3 separate regions of the Homo sapiens genome follow, and regions 2 and 3 are each linked to region 1. The links are contacts of gene promoters, found by promoter capture Hi-C in blood cells and fetal thymus (Javierre and others, 2016). All regions are on one chromosome and are shown on one strand. Each heading gives the region's core, a stretch centred on a gene start or on the middle of the fragment in contact. The rest is flanking DNA. Distances are from core to core; before and after follow the strand shown.

Region 1 (4,417 bases), core at 998-3,497:
TTGAAAAACTAAAATTAAACACAACGGACTGTATCAGCCACAGCTTGGGCAGACCGATGGGCCCTGAATTTCTACGTTCTTTAAAATCAGGATATTATTGCAGCTCAGGGTTTAGTTTTGGAAAGATACCAGATAAATCTCAAGCAACAGTGTGAAAGAAAGGCAGAGTTCAGGCAACATTTATATAAGATCAGATGAACCCCTGATATTCCTTCCAGGTCTTGAATACAATCTGTGAAAATTCAGAGTTCAGGGGTAGAGAGTAGATTGTGAGGATTAATGAAAATGAATATTAGGTTTGATTTTCACATTAGAAAAGGGAGGTCATAATTACATTAAATGTTGGCAAATGTGAAACAGGTGTTAAAACCCAGTCTCAATTCAATAATTTGGGAGTTTATAAAATTCAATGTTGTCAACTCCAAGAGGCAAGAATAATTTTGTTTGTCTCAGTGTGCTAAGATATGACAACATAAGTAAAAGTTCACTATTTCATACTGTTGATACAAGTAAAAAACTGGTACCATAAAAATGTATACTTATGAAATGCACAAATTGTTAAATAGCTCTTCGGGGACTTTTCTTCAGGATATGAAAAAGGAGGGGGCAGAGTTGCTCTTTCCCTGGTAGATAAGCATACAAGTTATGTTCAGGCATAGGCCTTTGGGATGACCAAAGTAATCAGGAGGAAAAAGTCCTCAGATATAGCACTTTGTCATTTTGAAACTTCAAATTACAGTTAAAAAACAGGTTTCAGACTTTTTTTGAGGTAACTTGAGCTCCTGCAATCAACAACCTTCTTCACCCCATAATGTAAATGAGTATCGAAAAAAAGGAAACAAAGTAAGCCCCGTCACACGGACAGTAAGAGAAATTCTGAACTCCAGGTCTGTTCCAGGATGAGAGCCATGTCCAAGATTCTGCATTCTCTTCTTCCAACCACTCCTTTCAAGAACTCAAAATGCCAGTCAGTGCAGGTAAAGGAAGATGCACATCCGCCGGTTGCCAATTTCTGAAATTTTCTTGTTACTTCTACGATACAGACAAGTGATGCCTTCTCAACTTCGTCCAGGTTTCTTCCAATCTCCGAACACGGTGACTCCGAATCCTCTTGCCACTCCCTTCTCCAGGGACCTACCTAGGCAGCACTCCCAGCCCCTGCCAGCTCTGGAAGCTGCAGAGATCCCGACAGTCGGGGATGGGGATTGAATCCTCTCATTGCAGTGCAATTAAGCGGAACCACGACCACCGCACAGATTGGCTGACAACACACATTCCATAAGACCAGCAATCGAATTTTGAGAAGCCTTGTCCAATCAACAGGCTTTATTTGGGATTCAGTTTTTTACTTTGTTCTATTAGGAGGAAATATAATCAGCCACCAGCTTAGCCCTCCAAAAGAGGGGACAGAGATGTTTCTCCGCTTTTGCACGCTATAAAGTGAATCTACAAGTAGTAGTTGGTGGAGGGAAAATGGGCCTGCATGGAGAAGGCGCCCACCACGAAGGCACGGCCAAGCCGGGTTGCACGCAAGAAACACACAAAATACCAGGTGATTTACACAAACAGCCCCCAGGACCACCATTTTTGTGGTCCCCAAGGCAAACCAGTGGGATTCTCCCGGCAGTTTTGCGGCAACAGCTAGCTCAACAAAGCTCTGTGAAGAGGAAAAGAAGAAAGCTCCTCGTACTTTCTCCTGCCAGCCGCAGCCCCAGCCCTCCCGTGGCCGCGGCCACGAGCCCTTTCCCCCTGACAGCCCGAGGGACCCCCGCATCGCGGGTTCCGAGCCGCACAGCTCGACCTGAACCCGGGTTCCCGCGTCTCCGGCGGCCTCACGGCGCCCCCGAGGGCGGAGACGGCCCGGGCAGGGGGAGGGGCGGCCCGGGTCCGCAGGCCCCCGGGGCGGCCGCACGCCCCCTCCCGGCCCCGCAGCTTTCCCGCCTTCCCCGTTTGAACAGCTCCCGCCCGCCCTCCTCCTTCTGCCCGCTCCAGCCCCTTCCTGGGGGCGGCTGCGGCCGCTACTCCAGTCCCCGGCTCGGCCCCTGGGCTAGGCCGCGAAGGGCCTGGGGCACCCCAGAGGTGATGTCGCGGGCCCAGGGCGGCGGGTGGCGACGGGGCGGGGCTGCTGCCGCCTCAGGGTGGGGGCCCAGCCCGGTCTCCTGGGGTCTCCGCTCGCCGCTACCTTCACTCGGCTCGCCCGGATCCCGCCTCAACGCCGCCGATCGCCGCCATCTTGGAGAAGGAGAGAAAAGCGCGAGCGGCCAGGGAGCCTCAGTCGAGCCCAGAGCGCAGACTCGGGCTCCGGAGGGGGAATCCCGCTCGACCAAGAGCGCCGAGCGCATCGAATAAAACTCGGAGCCTGCTGAGCGCGGGAGCTGGCACTTATTTATTGAGAATTTGCTATGTCCCAGCCTTGCCCTAGAAGCTTACAAACATTATTTCACTTAATCCTCACTGTATTCCTGTCGCATTTTGCAGAAGAGAACCAGGCTGAGAGAAGTTAAGTGACGTGCCCAAGGATACACAGGTAGTTGGAATGTGAGACCGAGTATTACTCCAAGTCTTCTGATTCTGAATGCAGTGCTTTCCCCAAAATACTATGCTGTTTCTTTCAAGATATTGTTATACAGCAGTTCTCCTCTTTGCAACACCTAGATCTATGCAGATTAATAGCAGTGTGCTTATTTGGACTTCAGCATCTACATTTGAACATTTGGCATATTAGGGGTGAGGTGAAGAACTTATCTTTGTAACAATGTACAGTAAAATAATTTGCATGGCGAATCATCTACATTTTTTAGTTAGAAACAGTCTTCAGAGAGAGAGAGGAAGAGATGTCATATACAGGCGAGAACACAATTTTTCTGATTTGCCATTGAGAACTTCGACCAATGAGTAGAAATTACAGTGTATAGAACTTGGTTTGATATGAAGAAGAACGCCAGGGGCGGTGGCTCACGCCTGTAATCCCAGCACTTTGGGAGGCTGAGGTGGGTGGATCACCTGAGGTCAGGAGTTCGAGACCAGCCTGACCAATGTGGTGAAACCCCGTCTCTACTAAAAATACAAAAAATTAGCCAGGCGTGGTGGCGCGTGCCTGTAATCCCAGCTACTTAGGAGGCTGAGGCAGGAGAATCGCTTGAACCCGGGAGGCGGAGATTGCAGTGAGCCGAGATTGCGCCACTGCACTCCAGCCTGGGGGACAGAGTGAGACTCCATCTCAAAAAATATATATATATATGAAGAATAACTTATTTTTCTAGTACAGTTCAGTAGTACAATGGGCTTCCTTGTGAGTAGTGAGCTCCCTCCCACTGGAGGAGCGCTCAAGCAGAAGCTGGTGTTACTGTAAAGCAGAGAAGTTAGAGATGTAGATTGGCTTCTAGAGTTGTGAACCCCATGCAACGTAAAATCATGTGTGCAGTGTGTGTTTTCCTAGGGCCCAGGCCCCATAAAAAATTAAGAACCTCTGTCCTAGTGTATTTTCCATTGCAGAGTTGGGTGAGTGCTTGAAGACGAGGTAGTCATGAGACCAATAAAAGCAAGGTGATTTGTCTGAGACCACACTCTAATCAGTGATCAGATAAAGATGAAAAGCCAGATTGTTAGACTCTGGTTCAGTGCTCTTTTTGCTATATCATGCTCTCTCCCCCTCTGCACTGAGTAGAAGATTGATTCTGTTTCTTACAACTGTGAGATGCTGAGATGTTAAAACACCTGAGATAAAGTTGCTGAAATCATTTGCAAAATGTAACTGCAAATACTTAATAAAAGTAGCATGGCCTTTTTCTCCGCAGCTCCCATCCTACTCACCAAAAAGACAGGCAATGAGTTTCACCAAAAGGTGTTAGATTGCATTTCTGGGACACCCTGCCTGACGTTAGGCTTCCCTTTGAGGCATTTAAGAGCCCTAATGATGTATTTCCTTTTTGTTCTTCAGAGCCCTAAATCCATTGGTCAGGATGATTTCAGTTGTGACAGAAACCCATTTCCATGTGTTTCCCCAGAAGAGGGGAATTTATTGGCTCACATGATTGAAATTTCCAGTACCTGCAGACATGGTCACTTCCAGGGAGGTAACTCAAGCTGGTCCTTTGACGTGTCTGTGGTGCTCTCCTCTGTTAGCTTTATTCTCAGATTCAGGTGATGACTCCAGCAGCTCCAAGCTTCATCATCTTTCCTGCTAGCAGTGTCCCTGTGGAGGGAGGTTTTGTTTGTTTGTTTTGAGACAGGGTCTTTCTCTGTCACCCAGGCTGGAGTGCAGTGGCACGATCACAGCTCACTGCAGCTTCGACCCCCTGAGTTCAAGCAATCCTCCCACCTCAGCCCCCCAAGTAGCTGGGACCACAGGTGCATGCCACCATGCCCAGGTACTTTTTGTATTTTTTGTAGAGATGGGTTTTTTTTGTTGTTTTTT
Region 2 (4,417 bases), core at 664-3,163, 210 kb before region 1:
ATCTGCCCCCACAGGCCTCCTACCCTCTCCAGGTTTCTGCTAGGTGAGCTGGGAAGGACCAGAGGCAGCAGCTGTGGGTCACTGGGAGAATAAAGAAGAGGCTCATGTCCTCGTCATCTCCAAGGAGAGGCCATTAAGGAGATACTCTTGGGTAAGCAGGAGGCAAAACACACACACACACACACACACACACACACACACACACACAGAGAGAGAGAGAGAGAGAGAAAATGTAAAAGTGGGCCATGAATCTGGAGGTCTGGGACTAGCTGCTGTGTGAGCGTGGACAAGTCACCTGACCTGTCTGGATCTTGGCTTCATCTCTGTCCTGTGTGTGGTTTATGGGGAGCTGATCCATCTGCACATGTCCAGCCGGCCTGGGAGACCTCACCTTGTGGTCTGGGGCAGTTGTCCTAGGTCTCGGCAGACGTCACTTCCCAGATTTTTCCCTGTCCCCTGGGATTTGCTGCATGGGAATGCCAAGCCCTACTTCTTCAAAGCCACCGGGTCTTCCACACTGCCTGATGTTCGCCCATCCCCATCACCCAGCACCATCCTCCAGCTCGAGCAGAGGCTGGCAGGGCCCTACCCGCAGCCCCACTAGTTGGAGCGAGAACTGAAGGTGGCGGCACTCCCACTATGCACCAGGTTATTGGCAGGTATTAACTCCTTCAATCACCCCATGAGGTCACTGTTCATGTTTCCATTTTACAAATAAGGAAACAGGTTCAGAGAGGTTAAGTCACTGGCTCAAGGACACCCAGTCGGTATGTGGCTGAGCAAGCATTCCTGTTTCTGCTAAGTCAGCTGCTTGTCCTGTGCTGTGACACTCTGGGTACCAGAAGCTCACCAGGCTCCTGACCCTGCAGCTCTGAGCTGGGGAGCGAGGAGAAGGCTTGAGGCCAAGAGCATGGAGACTGTCCCAGCAGAGGCTAATGCCATGAGCATGAGCCTTACCTCCAGAAATGCCCTTCCTCCCGGTTCTTCTGAGAACCACCTCTGTAACTGCCCATTCATAGAGGAAAGAGCAAAAAACCGAGCACCCACCATTTGTCAGCTCTGTTCTGAGCACAACCTTGATGACCAACATGCATCCCTGCCTTCATGGGGATCACGGTCCAGGGTAGGAGACAAAGAAACTCAGGTCAGGAGTGCATGGAGTGTTATAGAAGAGGGGCATGGGGACTGTGGGAGCCAGAAAAGGAGTTCCTAGGCCAATCCAGAAATCAGGGAAAGCTTCCTGGAGGAAGAAATACATGTACAAATGGCTCCTCAGTGGGCTCGGACCAAGGAAGGTCTGCTTTGTTCCTTGTTATCTACCCAGGACTGAGGACAATGCCTGACAAAAGTGAACTCTCAGGAAAGAATGGCTGAAATGATTTGCTTAATTTGAAGTGATACAGTTTGGCTGTGTCCCCACCCAAATCTCATCTTGAATTGTAACTCCCACAATTCCTACGTTTAGTGGGAGGAACCTGGTGAGAGGTAATTGAATCATGGGGGTGGGTCTTTCCCATGCTGTTCTCCTGATAGTGAGTAAGTCTCACGAGATCTGATGGTTTTAAGAACGGGAGTTCCCCTGCACAAACTCTCTCTTTGCCTACTACCATCCATGTAAGATGTGACTTGCTCCTCCTTGCCTTCTGGCATGATTGTGAGGCGTCCCCAGCCATGTGGAACTGTAAGTCCATTAAACTTCTTTATTTTGTAAATTGCCCAGTCTCAGGTATGTATTTATCAGCAGTGTGAGAACAGACTAATACAGGAAGCTCCATGACAAATGACTGATGCCTTTAAGAATGTCAGGAAAATGTCTGGGATATTCGGGAACTGAGAAGGCAGTGGGGGTGGGGGTGTGTGGGTGAGCTCTGTCTTCAAAACCTGCAGGCACCACCAGCAAGAGAAAACCCACTGGACCTGGGGGACCCCAAGGGGCAAAGCCAGGACTGGTGGGAAGAGGCATATTTGGCTCCATCTCTAAGCAAGAGCATTTCAACAATCCAGCAGTTAGAAAGGCCGGGAGCTGTCTGTGAAGTTCTGAGTCCTCCGTTAGAGGGGTTTGAGCTGAGGCTGGATGGCTATCTATTAAGGATGCTGGAAAAATAAATAGATCAAAGGTCTTGGTGGGAGGCGGAGTCCGCTGAGTTTTCCAGGTCTCGTCTGTGGCTGAGTCTGAGATGTGCCTGCCCAACGGGCGACTCACTTTGTCCCCGCTAGCAGAACTCCCATTCAGGGTAGAACATCATGGCGCCCACTACAGGAGCTGAAAAGGATTGTTCTAAGCCTTTATGACTGTCCTCCTTTGTCAAAGCCTTCCCAGCCTGCTCTGCAACAGCAGCAGTCATGTGACCCAGTTCTGGCCAATGGTGTGTCTGTTGAGCAACTTCTAGAAAAGATCTTGTGTCCTCCCCACACAAGGGAGGCTGTCACCTAACCACTGTGGGGCAGCCCTTTCATCTTCCTTATGGGGATGAGGGTGAGAGTATAGGATGCCTGGCAGCCACCTTGAGACCATGAGGCAACAAACCGTAAGCTGAAAAGCACACACTCAGGACAGCAAAGGAGTGAAGTTTGGGGCAGCAAAGCTTAGCAATTCTGAGATACACCATCTTTTGATATTTGACATCTTTGAAATCAAGATGTATCTTATGATCATCATTAGGTGTTAGGGTGTACTTGGCTATTTTTTTTTAATCAATAGAGACATGGCATAGTTTAGGGATTTGTGCAATACCATGTAAATAATACATAGTGTAACCAAGAGCCCGACCAGACCTTTTCCAACTCAGCATGTGAGACATGGTCTGAGGGAAGGAAGGGAGATGAGCTCAAACATACTGAGCACCTACTATGTGCTCAGGCACTTCACAGGTGCCACCTCTCCCAATGTTCACACGCCCTGCACTTGCCCAGAGTCACTCACCCAGGAAGTGGCAGAAACAGGATGAAACGTAGATTTATTTGACTCTGAAGCTAAGGCTCCCACAGTTTGTTTGTCTCTGTCCTTGGGGCTGTGTCCTCTTCCAGTTCCGCAGCCGAGGGGCTGAGTGCAGGAGTTGTTGCCTCCTCCCCAGGCACCAGTGTCCAGATGGTTTGCAAACTGCTTGCCCCTCCGTCTCTCCTCTTCATCCTGGGGCCATGAGGAGCTGCCACAGGGCTTTTAAGAAGGGACTGACGGCTGGGCACGGTGGGTCACACCTGTAATCCCAGCATTTTGGGAGACCGAGGTGGGTGGATCACGATGTCAGGAGTTCGAGACCAGCCTGGCCAATATGGCGAAACCTCGTCTCTACTGAAAATACAAAAATTAGCTGGGTGTGGTGGCACGTGCCTGTAGTCCCAGCTACTCGGGAGGCTGAGGCAGAAGAATCGCTTGAACCCGGGAGGCGGAGGTTGCAGTGAGCCGAGATCATGCCACTGCACTCCAGCCTGGGCAAGACTCTGTCTCAAAAAAAAAAAAAAAAAAAGGAGAATGACATGGCACTAGTGACTTATTTCTCTGGGTTAAGCATGGCCCTCTCCAGCTCTCTTGCTTAAAAGACAAGGTGCTGATGCAGGGAAGTCTAACAACCCTACCCTCAGGCACAAGCATGTATCTTGTTGGGCTCCTCGAGTAGAGGAAGGATGAGGGACATGTCCCAGGGAAGGCCCCCAGGTCAGCCTCACTGGCTTCTCCAGGAGGTCAAGGGCTGGCAGAGGCCCTGCCCATCCCTCTGCCTTTACACTGACCTCCCCGCTCTGTCTTCTGCTGCTGTCACCCATGCCTTGGGCAGACCACACAGCCAGCCTGGCTACCCTGAGTCCATTCCCCTGACTTCACCTGAACAGCGGACAGCAGGAGTTGAACCTCTGAGCCTTGGATTCAGGACCGTCTGGGTTCAACTTCTGTCTCCCCCAGCTGTAGACAGGTGACCCTGGGGAGTTATTTATTCTCTCTAAACCTCAGTTTGTTTATCTGTAAAATGTGGGTAATGACACTTTACTATACAGACTTCTCGAGAGAATCAAATAAGACAAAAATATAATTGACAGAGCACCATGCTAGAGCAGAAAACTCTATAAACATCACTCTTATTTCTATTGTTGAAATTGTCCAGCAATGGTATCTGTGGAACATAAGGCTCAGAGAGGGGACATGAATTGCCCAGCACCATACAGCCAGTTGATGGCACAGCTGGAATCAGAATGTGAGTTTTTTTTCCCACTTAATAATAATAACAATAAAAATAACATTAATGGGGGCCATGTGCGGTGGCTCATGCCTGTAATCCCAGCACTTTGGGAGGCCAAGGTGGGTGGATCACCTGAGGTCAGGAGTTTGAGACCAGCCTGGCCAACATGGTGAAATCCCATCTCTACTAAAAATACAAAAATTAGCCCAGCATGATGGCGGGTGCCTGTAATCCCAGCTACTCGG
Region 3 (4,417 bases), core at 1,401-3,900, 180 kb before region 1:
GATGGATGGATGGATGAATGGATGGATAAATATGTGGGTGGGTGAGTGGATGGATGGATGGATGGATAGATGGACGGATGAACGGATGAATAGGTGAGTGGGTGGATGGACGGATGAATATGTGGGTGGGTGGGTGGGTGGGTGGATGAATATGTGGGTGGGTGGGTGGATGGATGGATATGCATGTGGGTGGATGGATGAATGGATGGAAGTCAGACAAGCAGCAGTTCCCAGGCTAAGAGCAGGGTTATTTACACATACCCCTTTGGCATCTGTCTGAAAGGTAGGGATGGGGTTTCCTAAGAGACAATGGTCCGTGCCTGGGTCCTTCTGCCTGGAAGATCTTTACCCTTTCCCTTCCTTGCCCTCGCTTGGTGAATAGGGAGATGAAGAGGACAAGGGGAAACGACAGGCCAAACATTACCACTAACTTGCTGTGTGTCCTGGGACTAGTCACTCCCCTTCTCCTCTGGGCCTGTCTCCCTCACTAAAATGTGAAAAAATAGGACTAGATTGACACTTTCCAACCTGGCTGGTATCAGAATCCTCTGGGAAGCTTGTGAAAATGCAGATGCCCAGGCCTCAGACCCATTAAACCAGCATCAGTTTTTAACAGGCTACCCAGGTGACTCTCACAATTGGTCAGATTTGGAGATAAGGGACTAAAAGGTCCCCAGGGCCTCAGTTGTGACACCCCGACTCATGGCTAGGTATGGCCCTTTCTGTAACCCGTCTTCTTTCCCTCTTTCATCTCCTCTCTGATAGTCAGGAACCTTTCAGTTACAAGGTCAGGAGCCCGACCCACCCTAACTGAAAGGAAATCTATTTGCAGACATACAAAGAAATTCACAAAGCAGAACTGCCTTCAGGCTTAGCTGGATCCAGGGGTTCAAAGATTCTCAAGGCTGTCATTCCATCTCTCAGCTGTTTCCTCAGTGTATCAGTTTCATTCCCACGTAGGCTCTGTCTACATGGCATGATGATGGCTGCTGGCCCACCCAACTCTTGTTATGCCACCCCACAATCCTGTAGAAAGTGAGAGAACCTCTCTCTTTTGGTGTCCATGAATCAAATCTCAAAGACTGATTGGCCCAGCCTGAGTCACCTGCCCACCAGGAGCCAATCCTTAGGCCAGGGGATGGGGCATTCTGATTGGCCAGTCCAGTCACATGACCAAAGAAACCCAGTATGTTCGGGGCACTGCCCATTCCCTAGGCCTAAGCCCTGGTCAATTCCCAGCCATGGGCACTTCCTGTAAGGGGGAGGGGAGGAGAGCCCAGCATCCTCCTGGGGCTGTTCTGCATGCAGGTGTCAACTGATCACCTGCCCAGAAGTCAGAAGTTTGTGGCTGTGTTCAGAGAAATTTCTGGAGGATCCAGGCCAATGGCCTCCTCATGTCCTCTGAAGGAGGTGGCCCTAGTGACGCGAGGCTGAGTCTTGGGACCCCTCTCCATCTGGCTTTGTGAAGTCACCCTTCCATCCTCATCTGCGAACTGACTCTCCCCCTGGCAAAGCTTGGGTTTCTAGGCCCACAGATAAACGTCTTTTCTACCCACCCCATAATCCCAAGGGCACTTTGCCAGCCCCTTCTCATTTGTTTGTGAAGGTCGGGTGGGGATATGATTACAGCCAGGCTGCCTTCCTAGGACAGGGTCCTGACCCAGAATGGCCTGTGGCCCTGCCCCAATGGGTTTGGACATGGGAAGGTGATGCAGGGGCAGAAAGCCAGGGCTGGGGAGAGCTGAGCAGCTCTGCACAAGAGTGAAGGGGGGAATTGAGGGGGAGAGGGCACGAAGCCAGGGAGATGGAAAAAGGCCAGAAGCCCCGGCCCATGAGATGTGCAGGGTGCAGTGGGCGCTGGCAAAGGAGTAGAAACAGCAGGGCCCCCTCATAGAAAACGTGAAGCCCCCAGGTGCCCCTTCTGCCCAGCTTTCAATAAAGCCTTGCACATAAGAGAGGGCTTTGGTGGAAACTGAGGAAGGGGCTGAACTCCAAGCCTGGATGCTGTCACATGTAACAGCGTGTGGAGGTAGTGGCGAGGCCTGGAAGCTGCGGAAGGTCAGAGAAGCAGGAGCATGAAGCCTCTGGGGCCCATGCGGTCTGTGGGTGGGGAGGCTGTTAAGAGCTGGATCCAGGCCGGGGAGGGCAGGGGTCCCAAACACCATCTTGGACCCATCGGGGCTAGCCATTTTCCCTCCATTTTCTTTTTTTCTTTTTTTTTTTTTTTTTTTGAGACTGAGTTTTGCTCTTGTTGCCCAGGCTGGAGTGCAGTGGTGCGATCTCAGTTCACAACCTCTGCTTCCCAGGTTCAAGCGATTCTCCTGCCTCAGCCTCCCGAGTAGCTGGGATTACAGGCATGCACCACCATGCCCAGCTAATTTTTGTATTGTTAGTAGAGATGGGGTTTCTCCATGTTGATCAGGCTGGTCTTGAACTCCCGACCTCAGGTGATCCGCCCGCCTCGGCCTCCCAAAGTGCTGGGATTACAGGCGTGAGCCACCGCGCCCGGCCATTTCCTTCCATTTTCATTCAACTGGGGGAAGCACAGCAAAAAATACCCTCTCCTTTTCCCTCTCAAGCAGACATGCCCGAGAGGTTGCCCAGCAGGCCTGCAGCAGATGCAGGACTAGAACCCAGGCCTCCGCCTCCAAGGCCAAGTTAGGGAGGCTGGCAGGGGGTGCCTACTGGGTCTCCCCCTCCCTCTGCCTGCCCCTCCTGGCCAGGGTTGTGTCCCACTCAGACCCACTGTGCCAAGGCTTCAGGCGACAAGCCCACAGGACAAAGGCTGCAGCAGGAAGACCCGGGAACAAAGCTGCTGCTGTGTAGACCAAGTTCAAAAATAAGCCAGACTCCCCGAGAGTCTGGTCACCATAGCAACGGGGGAGTTGTTCTGCAGAAGCCTCCTCACTGAAAGGCCCGGTGGCCACCACCTTCTTCCTCCCCTCCCTGAGGAATCAAGTCCCACCAGCACCAGGAGGAGCCTCTGGTGTCTTCACACATGCACATGCTGTCCCACCAAGTCCCCATCGAGGCCCCACCGCGGCCCTGAGAGACAGCCAGGGTCATTGTCACTCTGCACACTGGACCCCTGGGGTTCTGAGACAGAGGTCCTCACCAGGGTCACACACAGCTCAGGTCTGTCTGCCTCCAGGTCCAGCAATGCACAGCAAATTGGGAGGCCTGTATTCAAACTCCCATCTCTCTCCCTGCCTCCCAGCCTCCTCCTCATTCCTTTTTGTTTGTTTGAGATGGAGTCTTGCTCTGTCGCCCAGGCTGGAGTGTAGTGGTGCTATCCCAGCTCACTGCAACCTCCACCTCCCGGGTTCAAGCAATTCTCCTGCCTCAGCCTCCTGAGTAACTGGGACTACAGGCACCTGCCACCATACCCAGCTAATTTTTGTATTTTAGTAGAGATGGGGTTTTGCCACGTTGGCCAGGCTGGTCTTGAACTCCTGACCTCAAGTGATCCACCCACCTCGACCTTCCAAAGTGCTGGGATTACAGGCGTGAGCCACCGCGCCCTGCCTCCTCATTCCTCTGTGCCTCAGTTTCCCCCTCCCACCCAAAGCATTGTCGGGGTAAAGATGGGGACAGTTGTGCGTCCTTCCCAGGCTATTAGTGGTGAACAGGCATGATCACCCATGAGCAGGAACTGTGGGACTCTTGTCATAATCTCCTGTCCTCAGTGTTTCATTACAGCAGTGTCCCGTGTGGCATTCACTAATAGTTCCTCCTTGTGGGGTAAAGGTGTTGTCAGACAGGCTGTGGTAGGAATGCCCAAGCTTTCTCATCCCACTTCTGGAGATAGGCCCTTTCCCGCCTGGTCACAAAAGCAGGAAATGATCTGGACCTGACCAATTGATCTTGGCATCTCATCTCTCTGGCCACTGTGATTGGTCCAGGAGATAATGACTGGCCCAAGCACAGCCAATCAGAGAGCTCCCCTGGGACCGATAAATGGATACTGAGAGAAAAAAGCTCTTTCTTGGCAGAGAGGGTGGGGAGTTCAGGTTACTGACTTGGGACTTCCATGGGGCCTTGTCCCACACAGTGTGTAGAAGATGTATCATCAGGGTTCAGTGACAGACAACGGAATCCATTCCAGCTAGTAGGGAAAAAAAGGGCTTTTTTTTTTCAAGCATATTATTACTAAGTGTCTGAGCATCCAGGAAAGCTGCCTAAAACGCTGCTGAACTGGGCTAAGATGCCAGGGCTCCTGCCTCCATCAAGAAGCTGTGGAATTCAGAAGCCACCATTACAACTGCCAGCTCCAGCATTAGGCCTGCACTCTACCACCATCCACACAGCAAAATGGATGCTTGGATGCTCCATGCCCTGCCTCTCTCCCCACGAAACTCAGTTCCAAATTCTAGTCTTGTGCGTTTGCATTCAATGGCAGGATTTCCATGCCATCAGA

What was found. The method cuts DNA at HindIII sites, captures the fragments that hold promoters and counts their contacts. A CHiCAGO score of 5 or more calls a contact.
Region 2: a contact is called between a fragment that was not itself captured here and the fragment with the promoter of HMGXB4 in region 1, in 1 of 17 cell types (neutrophils). The highest score is 6.5, in neutrophils.
Region 3: a fragment that was not itself captured here is called in contact with the fragment with the promoter of HMGXB4 in region 1 in 1 of 17 cell types (neutrophils); the score reaches 9.3 in neutrophils.

Annotation. Positions count from the first base shown.
Region 1 is chr22:35,255,323-35,259,739 of GRCh38, reverse strand. It overlaps HMGXB4 (HMG-box containing 4), which reads right to left and starts at 2,247. Exons shown (of 11, transcript NM_001003681.3): 1 at 2,183-2,247. LOC105373017 (a long non-coding RNA gene) reads left to right here. Exons shown (of 4, transcript XR_938210.3): 1 at 1-1,552; 2 at 2,479-2,527. RefSeq lists a silencer at 1,688-2,187 and an enhancer at 2,453-2,953. The HindIII fragment of the contact is 10,131 bases long and covers 1-2,427 here.
Region 2 is chr22:35,469,058-35,473,474 of GRCh38, reverse strand. No RefSeq gene overlaps it. Among named protein-coding and RNA genes, the nearest start is that of RASD2, 70 kb to the left of the region's middle. The HindIII fragment of the contact is 1,349 bases long and covers 1,239-2,587 here.
Region 3 is chr22:35,433,979-35,438,395 of GRCh38, reverse strand. It overlaps a transcript of MCM5 not described here. Among named protein-coding and RNA genes, the nearest start is that of MCM5, 36 kb to the right of the region's middle. RefSeq lists an enhancer at 2,753-3,254. The HindIII fragment of the contact is 2,268 bases long and covers 1,517-3,784 here.